7 separate regions of the Homo sapiens genome follow, and all the other regions are linked to region 6. The links are contacts of gene promoters, found by promoter capture Hi-C in blood cells and fetal thymus (Javierre and others, 2016). All regions are on one chromosome and are shown on one strand. Each heading gives the region's core, a stretch centred on a gene start or on the middle of the fragment in contact. The rest is flanking DNA. Distances are from core to core; before and after follow the strand shown. Region 1 overlaps PCGF5 (polycomb group ring finger 5). Region 2 overlaps HECTD2-AS1 (HECTD2 antisense RNA 1). Region 3 overlaps HECTD2-AS1 (HECTD2 antisense RNA 1). Region 4 has its middle 79 kb from the start of PCGF5. Region 5 overlaps HECTD2-AS1 (HECTD2 antisense RNA 1). Region 6 holds the start of BTAF1 (B-TFIID TATA-box binding protein associated factor 1). Region 7 holds the start of IDE (insulin degrading enzyme).

Evidence for each region. The method cuts DNA at HindIII sites, captures the fragments that hold promoters and counts their contacts. A CHiCAGO score of 5 or more calls a contact.
Region 1: a contact is called between a fragment that was not itself captured here and the fragment with the promoter of BTAF1 in region 6, in 3 of 17 cell types (total CD4 T cells, fetal thymus and activated CD4 T cells). The highest score is 7.3, in total CD4 T cells.
Region 2: a fragment that was not itself captured here is called in contact with the fragment with the promoter of BTAF1 in region 6 in 2 of 17 cell types (total CD4 T cells and naive CD8 T cells); the score reaches 5.2 in total CD4 T cells.
Region 3: a contact is called between a fragment that was not itself captured here and the fragment with the promoter of BTAF1 in region 6, in 1 of 17 cell types (endothelial precursors). The highest score is 5.5, in endothelial precursors.
Region 4: a fragment that was not itself captured here is called in contact with the fragment with the promoter of BTAF1 in region 6 in 8 of 17 cell types (fetal thymus, total CD8 T cells, non-activated CD4 T cells and 5 more); the score reaches 12.6 in fetal thymus.
Region 5: a contact is called between a fragment that was not itself captured here and the fragment with the promoter of BTAF1 in region 6, in 10 of 17 cell types (total CD4 T cells, total B cells, naive CD4 T cells and 7 more). The highest score is 13.8, in total CD4 T cells.
Region 7: the fragment with the promoter of IDE here is called in contact with the fragment with the promoter of BTAF1 in region 6 in 3 of 17 cell types (erythroblasts, fetal thymus and naive CD8 T cells); the score reaches 8.1 in erythroblasts.

What each region holds. Positions count from the first base shown.
Region 1 is chr10:91,279,880-91,282,835 of GRCh38, reverse strand. It overlaps PCGF5 (polycomb group ring finger 5), which reads right to left. Exons shown (of 10, transcript NM_032373.5): 10 at 1-2,956. Among named protein-coding and RNA genes, the nearest start is that of PCGF5, 61 kb to the right of the region's middle. The HindIII fragment of the contact is 1,447 bases long and covers 827-2,273 here.
Region 2 is chr10:91,370,490-91,373,448 of GRCh38, reverse strand. The region is part of intron 3 of HECTD2-AS1 (HECTD2 antisense RNA 1); the gene reads left to right. Among named protein-coding and RNA genes, the nearest start is that of HECTD2, 38 kb to the left of the region's middle. The HindIII fragment of the contact is 3,540 bases long and covers 1-2,959 here.
Region 3 is chr10:91,339,339-91,342,501 of GRCh38, reverse strand. All of the region lies in intron 4 of HECTD2-AS1 (HECTD2 antisense RNA 1), which reads left to right. Among named protein-coding and RNA genes, the nearest start is that of HECTD2, 69 kb to the left of the region's middle. The HindIII fragment of the contact is 1,978 bases long and covers 731-2,708 here.
Region 4 is chr10:91,298,041-91,300,846 of GRCh38, reverse strand. No RefSeq gene overlaps it. Among named protein-coding and RNA genes, the nearest start is that of PCGF5, 79 kb to the right of the region's middle. The HindIII fragment of the contact is 3,876 bases long and covers 1-2,806 here.
Region 5 is chr10:91,391,036-91,393,892 of GRCh38, reverse strand. The region is part of intron 3 of HECTD2-AS1 (HECTD2 antisense RNA 1); the gene reads left to right. Among named protein-coding and RNA genes, the nearest start is that of HECTD2, 18 kb to the left of the region's middle. The HindIII fragment of the contact is 9,163 bases long and covers 1-2,857 here.
Region 6 is chr10:91,922,302-91,925,375 of GRCh38, reverse strand. It overlaps BTAF1 (B-TFIID TATA-box binding protein associated factor 1), which reads right to left and starts at 1,606. Exons shown (of 38, transcript NM_003972.3): 1 at 1,286-1,606. The coding sequence starts at 1,299. RefSeq lists enhancers at 1,064-1,263, 1,874-1,983, 2,331-2,864 and a silencer at 1,324-1,623. The HindIII fragment of the contact is 1,276 bases long and covers 550-1,825 here.
Region 7 is chr10:92,572,621-92,575,417 of GRCh38, reverse strand. It overlaps IDE (insulin degrading enzyme), which reads left to right and starts at 1,325. Exons shown (of 25, transcript NM_004969.4): 1 at 1,325-1,496. The coding sequence starts at 1,399. RefSeq lists enhancers at 666-905, 916-975 and a silencer at 1,476-1,925. The HindIII fragment of the contact is 22,211 bases long and covers 1-2,691 here.

The DNA.
Region 1 (2,956 bases), core at 301-2,800, 640 kb after region 6:
TTCATTTTTGAAGTTCCTACTACCAACCAATATCTTATTAGTATAAAGCTTAGCTTTCTGGAAAATTCCTTATGATAAACCAGAGTATGTAATAGAGTGTGCATCCATTTTCACCCTATCCAAGGAGTTTTACCTAGTGACCTATCAGAAAGACTCCATAAGATGAGTTTTACCTTTAAGGTAGCCCATAGCATGAGTTCCCAAGGAGAAATGGTACAAGGGGGATATGGAACTTCCTCTTGATGTACATGCTTGTTCTGTGACCCATTTTGTCAAAGTTGGCTGTATGGCTAAATTCTAATAACAATAAACTAAGTGCTGAGAAACAAGACCAAGAGTTGAATTTTTTTTGGAGATGGAGACTCGCTGTGTCACCCAGGCTGGAGTGCAGTGGTGTAATTGCGGCTCACTGCAACCTCCACCTCCTGGGTTCAAGAGATTCTCCTGCCTCAACCTCCCATGTAGCTGGGATTACAGGCGCGTGCCACCACACCTGGCTAATTTTTGTATTTTTAGTAGAGATGGGGTTTCACCATGTTAACCAGCTGGTCTCGAACTCCTGACCTCAAGTGATCCACCTGCCTTGGCCTCCCAAAGTGCTGGGATTACAGGCATGAGCCACTGTGCCCGGCCTAGAGTTGCTTTTTAAGGGGAAAAAAACCACAGGTCCTTATGAAATATTTTGAATATAGAGAAAGCACTTACTTATATAAATCCCATAGAATGAAGTCTTTTCTATACAAGTAAGTGTGTTGGCACTTTTACCAAAGTCTGCCTTTAATAAAATTTCTCATATTATGAATAATACAGGAGCTAAATCTAAGCTTAATTTTAGTTAACACTGCCTCCATGAAATAAAAACCCTCTCAAATTAAAAATCTGAACTTTCTTTTCAAAGTATGTATTTCTCTCACTTTTCATGCAGAGGAAGGCTATTTGTTGTGTTTACCTCTTTCTCATCTTTGAGGATTTAGATTTACTAAGATCTGTTAGATGATGCTGAAAAACAATGAACATATTTGAAAGGAAGTGTGTTCTGATTATTGCAAGAAAAGCCTGCATTTGACTGATCTCACCAAGAAAATTCAGTTTAAAGCCTTTCTTTGGTGATATTTTAGCAATTAATCAAGGTTATTGCCTAACTATATAAAATTAAATTGCAATCTAAAAATTTCCAACCTCCAAACTGTTAAAACCGTCTCTCCAACATGGTTATTAATTTACTGTAAAATGTCTTTGGTGATATCTATATTCTTATGAAAATCTTCCAAAAAAATTAACTTACAAGAGCCTATTTAGATATGAAACCATTCATAAGAGACAGGTACAGATAACTCAAACTTTATGCAGTAAATTTAAAACAGAAATGCACTTTAGTAATGAGGCACTTTCTCTTAAATATTTCAGTAAAGCTAAACAGTTCACAATATTATATAACACACTTTTTTTCCTTAAATAATCAGTTTAAATTTAGATTACATTTGAGTGTGTAATGTAGTTGAGCAAAGTCATTACGTTTATAAAATGTGGCACATTACTATGGGATAGATGTTTAATGTATAAAGAAATAATATACTCCTCTAAGAGTAGTTAAAAGGCATTACCCAAGTTACCTGTACTCCAGACTGAGTATTACCTCATCAATGAGCATTTTAGTTTATTTTTTCATACTTTGTAAAGCTGTTTTGCTAATCTAGAGAAAAGGCCATACATATTTTGATTTCTCTATTAACTGATGTGATTACTTCAATTAAAGTAATGTTTATAAACCACAGTCATTCTTTATATCTAAGTTCCCTTGACCCTTTTATACTTATAATTTCTAAGGCAGATAAAAGAGATAACAAAATCTTTTATGGAAGTAAAGGTCTTTCAGTTTATTGCTTAAGAAACAACAGATTAAAGAAAACTTTTAGTTTTAGTCTCTGATGTTACAGATTCAGATGATTCCTATAGGTTATTTAAAGAATTCATTTTATCATTTTATAAGCACCCTAAATTTATAAAGCTAACCACAAAAGTTGCCTGTACATTTTTTCTATACCTAGTTTCTTGCAAATTCTACAATCTGACTTAAGGGATAATTAACGGGGAATACAGTGTATTACTAGACATGAAAGTAGTCCTATCCTTAGAAAGCTGTAGTTGAATATACCAAAATAAGTCAGTTGAAGAAATCTGTGATTCTAGTAGTAATACCATATCACTTAGGACCATCAAAAAAATGTGTACCTTTCTCCAAACGACAACTGATGCCTTTCTTTATGTAAGCTTTTCACGTGTTTTGGCACATATTCCATTGCATTTCAATAAAAATGTTAATGCATTATCAGTAAATAAAAGAATTCTATATAAAACTATTCTCAGTTTCATAATTGCTTCCTATATATTTCCTTGGAAAATAGTGAAATTACATATGACAAGGCAACCAGCCAAATTTAAAGAGATTTTGTAGATAAAATTCATTTATGACCATTAAGTTTTGGCTGGGGGGCCAAAACATCAAAGTCTCACTTGTGATTTTTAAAATGCACTCTTAATTCATTTTGAGTTAATTAAAATTCCATTTGCAAAACACTATTTTAATCGCTGACCTAGGTGTGACAAATTTATAATAATTTGTAAAAGTTCTTAGGGATGTCTGGGAACAGTTTCACACCATAGAAAAATAATTTCTGTAGCTAGATAGTAAATTCAGTTTTTTCAGCCATTTATAGTTAATGAAAATCTGCCTTTTAAATTCTGCTTGTGAGCCATTCCAAGAACAAAAACAATGTAACAAAACAAAGTTAAAGTATTGCCATAACCTTTTTCACCAAAGTTGGAACAACAACAGAAAAATTTAATAGACTTTTTGACTCAAAAAAAGATAGAAGGAACAGATAATTATGAAGTTTCAGCCTTTTACATAGTGAAATATATTAAGATTTAGCTGTACTTTGTATGTTTGCTAGAG
Region 2 (2,959 bases), core at 28-2,527, 550 kb after region 6:
ATTTCTGATTGTCCACAACAAAGATAAGCCTTTGAACTATTGAGGATTTTTAACCACCTTAGAAATGAACTAGTGCTCACTTTATGGATTTGGAAACTGAAGCCCACTGAGATGAAGTTACTTGCCTAAAATCACACTGTAGTTTAATTGGATTGCAGTTGGCAATCATTCACCCTATGTAGTAGTCTGTGAGGATACTGACACACATGAATTTCTTTTTTTTATTATACTTTAAGTTTTAGGGTACATGTGCACAACATGCAGGTTTGTTACATATGTATACATGTGCCATGTTGGTGTGCTGCACCCATTAACTCATTTACATTAGGTATATCTCCTGATGCTATCCCTCCCCCTCCACCCACCCCACAACAGGCCCCGGTGTGTGATGTTCCCCTTCCTGTGTCCAAGTGTTCTCATTGTTCAATTCCCACCTATGAGTGAGAACATGCGGTGTTTGGTTTTTTTGTCCTAACGATAGTTTGCTGAGAATGATGGTTTCCAGCTCCATTCATGTCCCTACAAAGGACATGAACTCATCATTTTTTATGGCTGCATAGTATTCCATGGTGTATATGTGCCACATTTTCTTAATCCAATCTATCATTGTTGGACATTTGGGTTGGTTCCAAGTCTTTGCTATTGTGAATAGTGCCACAATAAACATACGTGTGCACATGTCTTTATAGCAGCATGATTTATAATCCTTTGGGTATATACCCAGTAATGGGATGGCTGGGTCAAATGGTATTTCTAGTTCTAGATCCTTGAGGAATTGCCACACTGACTTCCACAATGGTTGAACTAGTTTACAGTCTCACCAACAGTGTAAAACTGTTCCTTTTTCTCCACATCCTCTCCAGCACCTGTTGTTTCCTGACTTTTTAATGATCGCCATTCTAACTGGTGTGAGATGATATCTCATTGTGGTTTTGATTTGCATTTCTCCGATAGCCAGTGATGGTGAGCATTTTTACATGTGTTTTTTGGCTGCATAAATGTCTTCTTTTGAGAAGTGTCTGTTCATGTCCTTTGCCCACTTTTTGATGGGGTTGTTTGTTTTTTTCTTGTAAATTTGTTTGAGTTCATTGTAGATTCTGGATATTAGCCCTTTGTCAGATGAGTAGGTTGTGAAAATTTTCTCCCATTTTGTAGGTTGCCTGTTCACTCTGATGGTAGTTTCTTTTGCTGTGCAGACGCTCTTTAGTTTAATTAGATCCCATTTGTCAATTTTGGCTTTTGTTGCCATTGCTTTTGGTGTTTTAGACATGAAGTCCTTGCCCATGCCTATGTCCTGAATGGTACTGCCTAGGTTTTCTTCTAGGGTTTTTATGGTTTTAGGTCTAACGTTTAAGTCTTTAATCCATCTTGAATTGATTTTTGTATAAGGTGTAAGGAAGGGATCCAGTTTCAACTTTCTACATATGGCTAGCCAGTTTTCCCAGCACCATTTATTAAATAGGGAATCCTTTCCCCATTGCTTGTTTTTCTCAGGTTTGTCAAAGATCAGATAGTTGTAGATATGTGGCATTATTTCCGAGGGCTCTGTTCTGTTCCATTGATCTATATCTCTGTTTTGGTACCAGTACCATGCTGTTTTTGTTACTGTAGCCTTGTAGTATAGTTTGAAGTCAGGTAGCGTGATGCCTCCAGCTTTGTTCTTTTGGCTTAGGATTGACTTAGCGATGCGGGCTGTTTTTTGGTTCCATATGAACTTTAAAGTAGTTTTTTCCAATTCTGTGAAGAAAGTCATTGGTAGCTTGATGGGGATGGCATTGAATCTATAAATTACCTTGGGCAGTATGGCCATTTTCATGATATTGATTCTTCCTACCCATGAGCATAGAATGTTCTTCCATTTCTTTGTATCCTCTTTTATTTCATTGAGCAATAGTTTGTAGTTCTCTTTGAAGAGGTCCTTCACATCCCTTGTAAGTTGGATTCCTAGGCATTTTATTCTCTTTGAAGCAATTGTGAATGGGAGTTCACTCATGATTTGGCTCTCTGTTTTTCTGTTATTGGTGTATAAGAATGCTTGTGATTTTTGCACATTGATTTTGTATCCTGAGACTTTGCTGAAGTTGCTTAGCAGCTTAAGAGGATTTGGGGCTGAAATGATGGGGTTTTCTAGATATAAAATCATGTCATCTGCAAACAGGGACAATTTGCCTTCCTCTTTTCCTAATCGAATACCCTTTATTTCCTTCTCCTGCCTGATTGCCCTGGCCAGAACTTCCAACACTATGTTGAATAGGAGTGGTGAGAGAGGGCATCCCTGTCTTGTGCCAGTTGTCAAAGGGAATACTTCCAGTTTTTCCCATTCGGTATGATATTGGCTGTGGGTTTATCATAAATAGCTCTATTATTTTGAGATACATCCCATCAATACCTAATTTATTTAGAGTTTTTAGCATGAAGGGCTGTTGAATTTTGTCAAAGGCCTTTCAAAAAATCAACGAATCCAGGAGCTGGTTTTTTGAAAAGATCAACAAAATTGATAGACCGCTAGCAAGACTAATGAAGAAAAGAGAGAAGAATCAAATAGATGCAATAAAAAATGATAAAGGGGATATCACCACTGATCCCACAGAAATACAAACTACCATCAGAGAATACTATAAAAACCTCTACGCAAATAAACTAGAAAATCTAGAAGAAATGGATAAATTCCTGGACACATACACCCTTCCAAGACTAAACCAGGAAGAAGCTGAATCTCTGAATAGACCAATAACAGGCTCTGAAATTAAGGCAATAATTAGTAGCTTACCAACCAAAAAAAGTCCAGGACCAGACGGATTCACAGCCGAATTCTACCGGAGGTACAAGGAGGAGCTGGTACCATTCTTTCTGAAACTATTCCAATCAATAGAAAAAGAGGGAATCCTCTCTAACTCATTTTATGAGGCCAGCGTCATCCTGATACCAAAGCCTGGCAGAGACACAACCAAAAAAGAGA
Region 3 (3,163 bases), core at 470-2,969, 580 kb after region 6:
GGGACTGTTCCTGCTTTTGGCCATGGTGGTCAGGTTTGTTCCCAGCTTAGTCTTTGAATTTAGTTTTTGCTATATGTTCTCAAACTCTCTTTCCCAGGGTCTACAAGTGGCATCCACCAATGGTCTCTAAAGCATCATGCTCCGTGTCCAGGTCTAGGACATCATAGGTGTTTAAAGGATACCTAGAATTTTTACCTCTTCCAGGAGACATCCAGGGAGGGTGGGCCTTGGTAGGAGGGGTCTTCTGAATCCACAGGACCTCCATAGGCCTTGTCTAGAGTGAGACCAGACCACCTGGTTGAGGAATAATCCCACTCCAAGACTTGATGTGGAGTCTAGGACCCAGAACTTGACTCATTATGGCTCCCTTGGCTTTGTGATACTGTTATAGAACCAAAGTGGGGTCCACTGGCCTGGCACAGTAAGGCCAGACATCCACACTGAGGTTTGAAGTGGCAAGAAAGGAAGGTATTTATTTGCAGGGCACCAAGAAAGGAGAATTGGCAGCTAATGCTTATGTCCTGACTTCCCAATGGCTTGCAAGTAAGGGTTTTTAAAAGCAGGGGTAAATTTCAGGAAAGCAGAAGTTACAGGCAAGATCATAAATCAATACATGGAGGCTACACATGGGTTTTGGCCTGAAAGGGTGGGGGATCTTGAAGCAGGAGCTTACAGGTCATAGGCAGGTTCAAAGATTTTCTCTTTTACAATTGGTTAAGGAAGAGAAGCTTTGTTTAAAAATTTAAGGTCAGCAGAAAGAATGTTAGCTCTGGCTCATGGGTGTGACTTCCTCCAGGACACTCAGGAAGAAATTTAGAACAAAGAATGGTTATCAGAATTCAGTCCTCAGTTCTACATTATCTGAGGTCTATGTGCCAGTGTATCCATTTGTTGGAGGTCCAGGTTTCTGAAAAATAACTCGGGTACATATGTTAAGATGTTATCTTTAGTTTCTATAGGGAACCAAACATCTCGGGACTCTCAGTTCCTTGGCTATTGTTTCAGGCTACCATTACCTTCTTGTTTATCAAGCTGCTTATTCACTTTCAGGGCTAGCTAGGCATCTGGAATTTCCCTTGAAGGAGCTCAAGATTTTCCTTTATTTCCATGCTTGGGGACCCAGAGACCCCTAAAAGGGGTCCCTGCTCCATCTCAGTACCTGGATTTTCACTTCCTTGCTAAGTCAGTCAGTTATAAAAAGCAGATTCAGCTCTAGCCCACATCTGAGTAACTGAGAAATTATCATCTCCACTTGGCAAAAACGGAAGCGTGAAATGTGAGTCAGTTGTTTTATTCCACTTCCTAGTGGAGAGAGACAGTTTCTCATCCAGTGTGAATCGAGTCATTCAGGAAGAAACTCAATCCCAGAGAATTATTCAGATGGCGATTGCAGCCTGCTCCTAATTAGACACAGGCTGACTCAGGGGCCAGGGCCTGATGCGGCTGGCAAGCAGCTGTCTCACAGGCTCACTTCTTACTCAGTCTCCTGGCACCTGTGCCTCCCTCTATCAAATAAACACAATTATAATTACTCCCTATTTAAGTGCAGCACAACCTGATTTCCATGTTATTTATACTCCGCACCCCCAAAACACACACACCATCTAATGAGGAGGTGGGTTCCAGCTGCTGGAGGGCCCCTGAAGTGTGCAAGGCTGGAGGTGAACTCCCAGGCAGAGATGAACTGCTCACCAGGAACGGAACAGGGTGGCGCTACAGGAAAACAAAATTTCCAGGGGGTAAAAACAGAATAGGGAGACACAAGACCACAAGGTCAGGAAACAGGTCCAGGGCAAAGAAGAATCCAGCTTGGAGACCAGATACTTCCAAAGAGAACTGAGGATGTCAGGCTGAGATTTTGCATGGGAGTTTCCTATAGGATTTGTATAGGAGATTTTGTGTAGGAGCTTCCTATAGGATTTGTATGGGAGATTTTGTAAGATTTTGTGTAGGAGTTTTCCATAGAATTTGTATAGGAGATTTTGTAAGATTTTGTGTGGGAGTTTCCCATAGGATTTGTATGGGAGATTTTATAAGATTTTGTGTAGGAAACTCCTACACAAAATCTTGGTCAACATCTATGCAGTTCATTAATACTTTTGGTGCAGAACAGATTGTCTATTTATTTACTGGAAAGGAGAGAGATGCTGTGTCCTGCATCAAGGTTAGCAAGAGATGAAAAGAGAGGCTGAGTTACTTGTGTAGTTACAGTATTTTTTAAATGTCAATTTGCCAGCCTAATCTGTGAGCTACAATGAGGATAGGGATTGTGTCTCTTGTTAGCAGATCCCCAGTGCCTAGCACAATGTGAGCACATAATAGGTGTTCAAACAGTTATTGTGTGAATACGTTGAATGCCTCCACTTAATGGCTCCATACAACTTCTGATTCCCAACTGAACTGAAGTCTAAAATAATGTTTTTTGTCCCTTTGCCTAGGGTTCACAGGGCACATTAGAAAGCTGATGATTTGGAGCATGGTAGGAGTGGCAGCAGCAGCTTTAGGGCAATGCTTTCAGAAAGATGTTCTTCAGCCCTCAGGAAGTGGTACTGCTGGCTGACAACACAGCTGGAACCCCACATAGAGGAAATAACACGGGCCATCAAGATGCCCACTCTAACAAGGGAGACCAATCTGATTTCCATAAGTATTAAAGTCAAATGTTGCTAGGGGATTTTGCATGCTGATTCATAGAGAAAAATAAAGCTTTGCTTAAAGAATGCATACATTCTTTCTGTTTACCCTCTGGGAACATCCATTATAAAGAGAAATTGAACTCTAATTGTACTCAATTGTGACACTTAGAAAGAAATATAAAGTATATGTAGTTGCAACAACCTTCAGTCTTTTCTCTAGGCTAAATGGAACATACTAAATTGAGAAGGAGGTGCTATAGGCTTCATGGTATCCCTAGAATAAAATGGTATAAATAGTATTTTGAATCAGAAGATGTGGCTTAAAGGCCCAACTCAACCACTTACCAGCGATGTGAGTTCCAAGGCTTATTTTAATAACTGATTCTGATTTTGCTTAAGTTCTTAATTTCAATAAAAAGTATAACCTTAACTGTATAAAACCAGTAATCAAATTGCGGGAAGATTTTTTAAAAAGAGCAAGAAAAATATTCCTAATTAATGACATTTTAATATTTCTTTATATTTGT
Region 4 (2,806 bases), core at 134-2,633, 620 kb after region 6:
TAGACACACACACACACACACACACACACACACACACACACACTATTGGTCCCATATCTATGGAGAACCCTAATACTGAACCTTCCAGCTTCAGTCACCATAGGGAGATTGCTCAGTGTCAAGTCCAAAAAATTCTAACCAAAGGAGTCAAGAGTCAGTAGCCCACTTTGGATTGAGTGCCAGTTAGGTTGATGGGTCATGTACTATATACAGAGAGAGAGAGAGAAAGAGAGAGAGAGCTCCTGTGAGAAATACGGATGGGAAAGGTGGCAGTTTCTAGAAAAACAAGTATGTGAGTGTGGAGGAGACAATCCTATAGATCTCCATCCACTCTAACAATTAGCCTATTGTTTCCATAGTAAAATGGAATTTTATAAACATTAATGTCATAGAACCCATGATTCAACATTCAACCATTTGCAAATATTTTCCATTCTTTGCAAAAGCAATATCATTGGCAAGGCTAGCACAGGCTAGGTGTGGTTGTGATTTTCTTTTTGGTTGCTGTGCCAGAGGGACCCTTGCTTTTCAGGATTCCCAAGGATTAGAGCTTCCATGTGTCGAAGGTAAGGACAGAGTAAACAGGATGCATAATTCTTAGGCAGCATGAATGGCTGCAAAAAGGCCTTGAGGTTTCATCAGCCAGCATTTCTGAAGCATCTCCTATGCAGCAAGCATTCTGTAAGGTGATGCCCTCAGCAGTAGGCTGGTACCTCAATAAATATTTATGCAATAAATATTTGCTGAATGGAATATGTGTGTGGCATTTAGTGACCTTTGGTTCATTCTTGCTGAAGAGCCCAGCAGCTTCTCACATGCAAATGATGCCACAGTCACCCAAGCCCCTGTCACCACTGCAAACACAGACAGCTGCACCTTGGAAGATGGGAACCTGAAACATTTTCATGGGCTTACTTAGTTGATGGAGGTGATGGTGAAGGTGGGAGTGGAAGCTGTGGAGGTGTGGCAATTGAGAACACTGGGTCTCAAACTGTAGCATGTATTCAAATCACCTGGAAGGCTTGTTAAAACAGATTCCTGGGCTCTGCCCTAGTAGGTCCTTGGCAGGCCTGAGAATTTGCATTTCTAACAAGTTCCCAGGTAATACTGATGCTGCCGGCTGACTTTGAGAACCACAGAGCTATCAGAGTGGCCCTTCTCAAGCCTGGCTACACATTAAAAATCACCTGGTAGCCCCCTCCCCACTACCCTAGCAGAGACCAACTAGATGAGAATCTCTGGGAATTGGTCTGAGGTTATGTCTCAGCTCTACAGGTGATTCCAATGTGCATCCAGAGGCCATAATCAGTGCCTTACATCAACCAAGACAAATGTAAACATGATAGGGCAGAGAGAAGGCCCTTGGAGAGAGCCTTAGACACATGAAGTATAAGCTAAAATTCTTCTATGTCAGTTAGTTTGATTAGTACTGACTGCCAAATAGCAAAAGAAGCCCCCACAGATCCATGGGGTGGGGGGAGGCTCAGTACTTTTAAGATTTGTGAAGGGGTCCCAAGAACAAAACAATTGAGAACTAGCATTATTAGCTCTATGGTGAACAATAGGACCCTCAGGAAGTGCCAGACCTGGGAGGGAACTTGGGTACCCTACAACCGGGCTCTCATTTTACAGATGAGAAAACTGAGGCTCGGCTCTCTAGCGGTTTGCCGGCAGGTCACCCAAGGGGCAATGACAGAGCCAGCCCTGGGCTCTGATGGCAGCTTCTGTGCTTCCTGATTCCCATCCCTGGGATTGAGACCGGGACAACGCTTTTCCATAGGTGTTCCTAGATTAGCAGAGGATGCTGGGAACAGCTTTCTGTGGCTCATTCTTGCATAGAAAGAAAACCCTCCTAAAGGTTTTGGAATCTCGCCCTTCATGTTCACTGTGCTCACACAAAGCTCTTCTTTTCAGAAGCAGTTCTTTTCTCAGAACACTTCAAATGTAACAAATATACATCCATCAGCGTGGAGCGGCAATCAGCTCACTCACTATTCATTCGAGTTGGTGACCCAGGGCCTCCGCGCCCTGGAAACGCTCCACGGGGACACCGCGCCGTGCCAGAGAAGCTGGCCTCCAAACAACCCGCTGTAAACAGCTTTGCAGAGATCTTCCTCTGGAGGGCACAGATCCCTGGGATTGCTAGGATGAGGTTTCTCATTCTTTCCGAAGTAAAGGGAACTGGCAAAGTTAAAGCAGGAATGAAAGAGCTTTGATCTTATGAGGCGGAGGTGCTTATCCCAGCTGGGGTTAACAAGGAGGACATTCAAGCACTGCGAGCGGTCCACTCCTCGTTCTTGCATGCCCCAGCCCTGAAGGAAGTGGGTTGCAGCTCTCGTTACCCATCCTCCAGGTGGATCCTCTTCCTTCTGCCCGCCCTCAAAAGGCAAAGAACCACTGCGGGCTGATGGCGCCCTCTGGAGGCCGTGATGGGAAACTGTGTGCCTCAATTTTGCAGCCACGGCTGCCTTCCCCTCCCCCACTTTCCAGGGGCTCCTGCCCAGGTCGGGCTTCCCAAGGTCTCTTCCTCAGTACATTACACATACTCCTTCTTATGTGTGAGCACATAGATAGCAAAGCACCCAGAGGCACGCATACCCTTCTTTAACCCCCCGGTTCATCTCAAGTCTTACCTGTCAGTTATCTCACGTTAAAAAAAAAAAAAAAAAACAATTCCACCTCCCTCTTTTCATTCCATTTGTGTTGCCCAGAGTTTAATCACATCTGACAAGACTCACAGGGGTGTTAGTGAAAGAACTCTACCAAGGGAAAGAAACACCACCTGCAATGAAGTAAAACTGAGTGC
Region 5 (2,857 bases), core at 271-2,770, 530 kb after region 6:
GAACACATAGGTTAGTTAAAACATTTAACTAAATTATATTTAATGAATTGTATGTTGATGGATTGAGTCATTTGTCCGTAGTACATCTGCCAGAGATAAATGCTTTTGAAAAAAATCCTACATTTTCTGCTTTTCTATCATAAGACATGATTTGATTGCAGCCACAGTGACACCAATTATATATTTTTTATCTGTTGAAGTGGAGAAAATGGGCTCTAAGTAATCATTACTTAGTGAAAATTGAACTGTCATCTCAAATTGTCAATACTCAGATTAGAAAATGTAAACAAAACTAAGTTCCTTTACTCTTCAACTCCACACAAGTGAAAATGCTGCATAAAATTTGATAGGCACAATTATCATCATTTTACCCTTTCAGATGTCAGCTCATTCTATTGATCTACATTCTGTTGATGTAATAGTTAAATATTAAAATTTAATGAATGCCAGTTAAAAATGGACCCCCAAAATGTATTGTTTATTAACCTGTATCTTAAAGGATTAGGCATAAAAAGATTTTATGAATGACAGTTCATGAATATTATTAATGTGAATTGAATTAATATTCATTTACTTGAAGCTGCTCATTATATCTGTGATTAACCTTTTACCTTCCTAAAGAGATGATGTTTTATAAGGAAAAGACACAAAGGAAAAGGGATTAAAATAATCTTAAAATAGTCTCATAAAGGGCTGGGCGCGGTGGCTCACACCTATAATCCCAGCACTTTGGGAGGCCGAGGTGGGTGGATAACTGAGGTCAGGAGTTCGAGACTGGCCTGACCAACATGGTGAAACCCCGTTTATACTAAAAATACAAAAATTAGCTGGGTGTGGTTGTGGGCACCTGTAATCTCAGCTACTAGGGAGGCTGAAGCAGGAGAATCGCTTGAACCCGGCAGGCAGAGGTTGCAGTGAGCTGAGACTGTGCCATTGCACTCCAGCCTGGGTGACAAGAGTGAGACTCCGTCTCAAAAAAAAAAAAAAAAAAAGTCTCGTAAAATTCCAACCTGCATTTTTTTTTTATTTTAATTTTTTTCGGAGACAGAGTCTCATCTGTCCAGGCTGAAGTACAGTGGTGTGATCTTGGCTCACTGCAACCTCTGCTTCCCAGGTTCAAGTAATTCTACTGCCTCAGCCTCCTGAGTAGCTAGAAATACAGGCACCTGCCACCATGCCCGGCTAATTTTTGTATTTTTAATAGAGATGGGGTTTCGCCCTGTTGGCCAGTCTGGTCTTAAACTCCCGATCTCAAGTGATCCGCCTGCCTCAGCCTCCCAAAGAGATGGGATTACAGGCATGAGCCACCATGCACCGCCCCAACCTGCCCTTTTAAAAGACCTTCATTCCATTAAATAAAATAATGTTATATGATTCTAAAACCCTTATCTGTGGCAATGAGTCTCTTCATGACTGTTTGAGGGAAAAATTCCACTGGTCAGTACAGTAGGCAGAATTTCTAAAATCATCCCCCAAGATGTTATATCCAACTACCCAGACCCTCTGCATGTGATGAGATTCAGTCCTGTGATGGTGTTGTATTATATGGCATAGTTAACCTTAAGATAGGGAGAATATCCAGGTGGGCCTCATCTAATCAGATAGGCCCTGAAAACAGGAATGCTTTCTGATGCTGCCAGCAGAAGTCAGAGAGATTCTTAGTGTGAGAAAGGCTCCCTGTGCCATTGCTGGCTTTGATGACAGAGAGAGCTATCTGAGAATGTAAGTGGCCCTAAGGAGCTAAAAGAGAGGCCCCTGGCTGACTGCCAGTCAGGAAACAGGGATCTCAGCCCCACAACTGCAAGGAACTGGATACTGCCAACAACCTGAATGAGCTTATAAGTGGGTTCTCTGTAGAGCCTCCAGATAAAAGCCCAGATGGCCCACACCTGGGCCTCAGCCTTGTGAGCCCCTAAGTAGAGAAACCGGTGAAGCCTACTCCTGACCCACAGAACTATGAGATCATGAATGTTTTTTTTTAATTAATCTACTTAATTTGTGATTTTTGACACCATAATAGAAAACTAATATAGTCAGGAAAATTATGAGCAAAACATTCACGGTAGAAGGGATCTCAGAGAGCTTCTAACCACTGGTGTCCTTGACAAAGAAGGACCCTAGACACAGTAGACAGTGTGAAACCCAAGCTATTTCAAAGCTCTAAAAAGCCTAAATTAAGTCACACAATTATTAATCAAATAGTGCTGTACAGACCTACTTAACCTTGATAGATGATAATCAAGTTTCTTTGTTTTTACCCTCACTAGAATGTAAGCACCACTTGGGCAGGGATGTTGACTCTTCTGTTCACAGTTATCCTTAATGTCAAGAACAGAACCTGATACCCAGTAGGCATTCAATAAACAAATACATAATTAGGGCCAAAATTATATCATCAGTATGATAAAAACACATTATTCAACTGTTAACAATTACTTATGCTTGAATTCATTAAAGAGATAATAATAAACTTTGAATGTGTAAATGCAGTTAGATTGGCCAAATCATTCAAAACATAGGCTTCATGGGTAGGAAAAAATAACAAAAGGGACATTAGTTATTAATTTGTGTTTTTTTTGAAAAACATTTTGTCCATTCCCCCTTCTAAAAATCCAGATGAGGAAACTGAAGCCAAGTGAGGTTAAGTAATAAATATGTAACTGTTAGCTAAATTGTGGTACTGGTTCTAAATGTTTGTGATAGAAAGCCGTTTAATCAAAATGAATCTGTCCACATTCGAAACTGATGGGTGCTGCTGATAAATCAACTGTGGGAAGAAAAAGTGAAAACAGACTAAAAAAAGCAGGCTTCAGAGCCACAGTTACTGGAACACAAACTCCATTCCATTTAGTTTAAT
Region 6 (3,074 bases), core at 357-2,856:
TGTTATATTAAGTTTACATATCAATGCATTTACAATGTATATATTCATGCATTTATATGGGAGGTAACAAATTAGAAGATACACCTTTCTATATTTGCAAAAATGTAAAATGTCACTTGTATTCTCTCAAGGCAGTTTTATTTAAAAAAAAATTTCCTCACATTGAATAGATTATAAAATAAAAATCAGATGCCCCATACTACGGTACCTAGCAACCCCCTTCACCCAACTCCCATGGGCTTCTCCCACACACTATTTCATCAGTCATCTAGGGAGTCTGTAAGGAATGGGTTATCCTTTCCCTTGCAAAACAGATAAAACTTGTGCACTTAATACGCTCAAAGAATGTGTTCAGTTAATTATAAAAAAATGAAAACTATTTGTTTTCATCATTTATTCCTTCAGTCTATATGGTAAAAGAATCCAATTCTCATTAAAAGTTACCATATCAACTCTAAGGAACTTGGTGAATCCATCCGATCACTATCACAGAGGAACTATCCCTTAATTACATGTACAGAGGGTCACCAAATTCCGCTTACAAAAGCTTTCCAACCATTCTATCATACCGGAGGAAAAAGTAATGTTTCTCCTATAGCTATACAAATAAATGTCGTTAGTTTTTCTATAGTTTTCCTGGGCTTTCCTGTTGACAGGCAATATTTCAAAAGAATATAAGATCTGTGATTTATCTTCCACGCCTTAGTTACGGAAAATGATGCTAATACGATAATTGGCTTAAGGTTACAACGCTGACGTTGGAATGTTTACTGCCAAACAAAAGGAGAAATTATACTTAATTTTAAAAAACATCTCAGGAAAGAACATACCCCTAAAAACGTAAATTAAAACTGGTAACATAATTAGACGGTCTCTTAGATAATAGTAATTCAGGTTTCCCCTCCATCGACAGTAACTACCAAGTTTTCCCATGAAATGGAGGTTAGGGACCAGCCTTAGAATACTGAGAAAGATAAGAGACTCCCCTAGAATCGAAAGAGGGAAGAGAAACCAGAGAACAGAAACATGGTGAGGAAAGAGAAAAAACAGCTCTAACGTGCCAAGGGGTCTATTAACAAGAAAAAGGCATTATTGAACCGATTTACCCAGGAGTAACCCGAGCCCAAACCCCCGCCGACCACGGGGCGAACTCCGAAGTCTACTGAAGAAAGCTCCAGAGCCCAGTGACAATGAGAACCGCTCTTCTCTAGGAGTGGGGGCTCTAAGAGGAGACCATGCCTTCCCTGAATCGCCTTCCAGTTTGCTCGTCAGGAGCAAGACCCACCTGGAGACCGCCATGGCCGGGCGCCGGCGGTTCGGAGCTCCCCGCGACCTACGCGCCGCGCAGCTGAGGCGCTAGTTTCCAGAGAGCTGAGCGGCGCAGGCCCAGGCCGCGGAGCACAGGGGAGCGGCCGGTGCGGCGTGGGGCGTTCCAGCGCAGGCCCTCGGGCATCTGCCCTGCCGCCTACCCGAGCTCGTCCCCGCGGCGGCCGGTAAGCAGGGGTCCAAGACGGTAGCGGAGGCGGCAGTCCTCCGACCCGCACGACTTCAAACCGGGTACCCTCAGCTCCGCTCTTTGCTGACGCGGGCGTCGGCACGCACAACTGAGCGTCAGCGCGCCGGAAGTGACGTAAGCTCACCGACAGGAGCTTAGCTCGGCGCGAGCGCCTTTGGTTTGGCGGCACGCGCCTAAATAAAAGCGCTTTGTGCTGATGTGGAGAGGGTGTCTAGTCTTAAAACTAGGGAAGGAGGTGAAGTAAGGGTCCCCTTATTTGACAGAGAAGGAAAAAGGCGATTTAGTCCAAGTCCTGGAACTTCGAAAGCTTGGTTTCTAATTCCACACTACCCAGATTCTGCTTCCCACCGTACTGCATCTAGGAAGCAAGATCAGAAGGACCTTAACATGCTCTTGTCCAGGTGGTGAAGCCAGTGGGAGGAGTGAAAGCAAAAAGTCGCTATGACACTGAAGAAATGGCTCAGATGTTTGTCATTATTTGCCAGAAGTTCTGCCTAGGTATTGGAGAGAAGGTCTTCTGACCAACGATTTTGCCAAGTTTGATTTCTCAATTGTTTATGTTGTTTGTACCATCATTTTCTCAGCCAGCCAGATTTGAAAACTACCATTTTTAAATTTTTGTTCCTTTGGGGGACTTATCTGGCTTTTCAATATTTTTAAGTTCATTAGGCTTTTAAACACTTCTGCCAGGCCCTTATCATCTTACACTTGATTTTTTTTTTTTGACCGAGTTTCGCTCTGTCGCCCAGGCTGGAGTGCAGTGGCGCGATCTCGGCTCACTGCCAACCTGCGCTTACCGGGTTCAAGCGATTCTAAATGTGCCTCAACCTCCCGAGTAGCTGGGAGGCACACGAGCCCCACGCCGGGCCAATTTTTTGTATTTTTTAGTAGAGACGGGGTTTCGCCATGTAGGCCAGGCTTGTCTCCTGCTCCTGGCCTCAAGTGATCTGCCCGCCTCGGCCTCCCAAAGTGCTGGGATTACAGGTGTGAGCCACTGCGCCCGGCCCTTAAACTTGATTTTTATGCTAGTAGTCAAAATAATATTTCTCCAATTTTCAGTTCAGCCCATTTTATAGGCCAACAGATTAATCTTCAAAAAACCTCACTGCTTTTTATCATGTCGCTCCTATGCTTATAAAGCATGTCCATTGGCTTCTCATTACCTGAAGAGGCTATGTCTCAATCCTTGAGTCTGTTTTTCATCTGTAAAATGAGGCTAATGAGAAGTACTGCAGAAGATTGTGGGAATAAAATGAGGTCATGAATCTAGAAGAGCTTACAAGAACTTTGTAAACCATAAAGTAGTATATATGTATGTAAAGAGAAAGAAACTAACAAGTACCTGCTGTGTGCTGGGCACATGACATGCATTATCCATATAATTTGTAGGGAAGCCTTGAAAAGTTAGTTTTAATCTTCGTAGACAAGGAAACTAAGCTCAGAAAGGTTAAGTAATTTGCCTCAAGATTCAAGCTAGTAATAATATTTATTGTCCAGTCATTCAACAAATGTTTGTCACCTCTCTGTATCAGAAACTCTGCTTGGCGGTGTTCATGCT
Region 7 (2,797 bases), core at 76-2,575, 650 kb before region 6:
CTGATTGCTAATTTTGTATTTATAATTTGTATTTTATGTCTCAAAGAGGTCCCCCAAATTGTATATGTTTCAAGCCCTCCAAGTCTGAATCTACCCCAGCCCATTTATAGATTCCATTAATGGAGCATAAATGTATTCAGAAAGGCTGCATTAACACTCTCAGAGGAGCTGCTTCAAGGTGATTGACTACTCTGCATTGGGACTGGTAATTTAAAGGTTCTTAAAACCATGCACTTGCAAACACCACTAGGAGGCTTGCCATAATTTTTACCTGTTTTCATCCAAAGGTTTGCCTTTAGGTGAAACCGCACTGTTAAAAAGATCGTGGGTACGTCTTCGATAAAGCATCAACTTGATTAAGGAACCCTCCTACTGAATTCCCATTTAAAGCAATACTTGGACTAAGGACACCGTTTTTGGCTGCAGTCTTGATCGTCTGTCAATCAGAAACCTAAAAGTACTTAAGCTGGCAAGTCACCATCCCTAATAGCATTCTTCCTTAAAGACTCCCATAAGGTATTATGGAAAGTTAGATTCATAACAACTATTAAGTTGTTCGTGGGTGCAAAGCCCCATAAAGCCACTGGGGAGAAAATTCTTTGTTTAAAAAGTAACCACTGAAGCCGACTGACATTAGTAGTATTCCTAGTACGGAGTACTAACAAGAGTAGTAGTTTCTACTCTGGATTTGAAGCCTTGTTTTGCTGCGGCGCCCGTCCCATCCGCACCTTCCTCTTAAGAGAGCTGCTAACTTCCCCAAGGATGGAAACGTCCCCCTGGGTCCTGGCCTCTCTATCGCTGACCCCTGCGTCTGAATTTCCCCCACGCCGCACTCGAGCCTTGTCTCCAGCGCATCTGTGCCTTCGCGGTCCACGTCCCCACCGCGCTCTAGAGGGAGCCCGCGGGCCGCGCGCCGGCCGCGGATTCATTTTACGTGAGGCCGCCGCGACCACGAACCTTGTTCCAACACCTGCAGGGTCCGGCACGCTAGTCAGTGGGGGTGCCTCAGAAAACATAGCCCCGTGTGCCCTCACTGGATTTATGAGCGGCCCCTCGCCCCCTCACAGTCAGACACACGTCGCCACCCTCACAAGTGCGGCCGGTGGGATCTAGCTGGGACCCTCCCCGCCTGGGAAAGTCTGGGTGCTGGCTCCTAAAGCGCCCCGGCCAAACCCCTGTCCCTCCAGTCCGCCTGCTCAGGCCTCGGCTGTCCGCGGTCTTCACCGTCCTCGCCTGCGTCCTGGCCCCATCCGGCTCCAGGCAAAACCCGGAGCAGCTACCTCTCCGCAGCTCCCGGGAGACCGCGCGGCGCCGCGGCTAGAGCATGCGCAGTGCGCAGGGCCGGCTCGAAGCGCAAGCAGGAAGCGTTTGCGGTGATCCCGGCGACTGCGCTGGCTAATGCGGTACCGGCTAGCGTGGCTTCTGCACCCCGCACTGCCCAGCACCTTCCGCTCAGTCCTCGGCGCCCGCCTGCCGCCTCCGGAGCGCCTGTGTGGGTAAGCGGAATGGAGCGCCCGGGCCCTCGGGCCCCGTGGGTCACAGCGGTTTGGCGCTCGGGTTGCAAAGTGGTGATTCAGCACTTAAAGCCGCCACCGCTGCCCCTCACGCCGCCCGTCCCGCCGGCCTGGGGCCCGTACTGCCGCGCTGAGGCCGCCCCAGGGCCCGGAAGAGCGGCTCGCCAGGCGGGAGCCAGAGGCCTGGTCCAGAGTCGGGGACGTCCCTTGGGCTGGTGAGGGGCCGGGGCCGCTACCCGGGGCCACGGGGCGTGTGCCACTAGTGCGGGGGGCGCAGGGGCGGACAGAGTCACCCGGCCTGCACCTGGGAGCCGCGCCGCGTCACTCTCCCGGAGTCCGCCTGTGAGGGGGCCGGGAACCTGAGGCGGACTCGAGCCGTGGGGTAAAGGAATCCGGCGACTTCGGGGGGACCGCTTCTCACCTTGCCCTCAGCCCTGCCCTTTTCTCCGGGCACTGAGTTTCCAGGACCGTGTGGAATGCCCGCGCTGGGAAAAAAGTTTGCCTGCCTCCCGCCTTGGAAGACGAGTGTGGGGTTTCCTATCGGGGGACATTTAGGAGCCAAAAGATACCTCGGGATCCTCTACAGCAGCTCCCTTGTTTTACGTCGGAGACAACCGGAGCTCCGAGAGATGGCTTGATTTCCCAGCAACTGCCGAGATTGTGGCAAAACCAGGATTAGGACACAGGTTTTTTGCCATCCGGCGGCGTGCCCTCTCCACTGCACCGTTGATCTGCGTACGCTAGGCGTTTTCAGGCTTGTAGTGAACGCTGAATACTTTTTACTACGAATGGAAGAAGATAGGCAGTATTATCTTGCCCTCCCTAGAAACGTTATTTGAACCCCTGCTGGTTTTAATCAGTAATAGCCAGCACCTACTAAGTGCAGGGCACTGTGCTGGACCCTCTATGTAAAGTATGTGTCTGCCTTCCAAGGAACTTTGACTTGATTGGAGCGGATTGGGATGCCACGGGAATTGAGATAGCTACAAGGGTGTGTTGATGAGGGTCAGAAGATGGGTAGTATGGGTAGTGTGTGGGGCCAGAGATGGGGGGGTAGGCTGGCTTTGGAAGGAATGGCAGAAAGGTTGGAGTGAGGGCTGGCGTGGGCGTAATCCAGCCTAGATATGCGGGCAGTTTGTGTTGGGGGAGCAGTGAGCCGATTAGTCTGGTTGAAGCTTTATAGAATTTCCTTGGGGTAATTAGAAGGACACAAGTCCTGTATTATAACAGTAGGGTAATGCTGGCCTGGGTCTTGAATTTTAGTTGGGATTTTCCCAATGCGT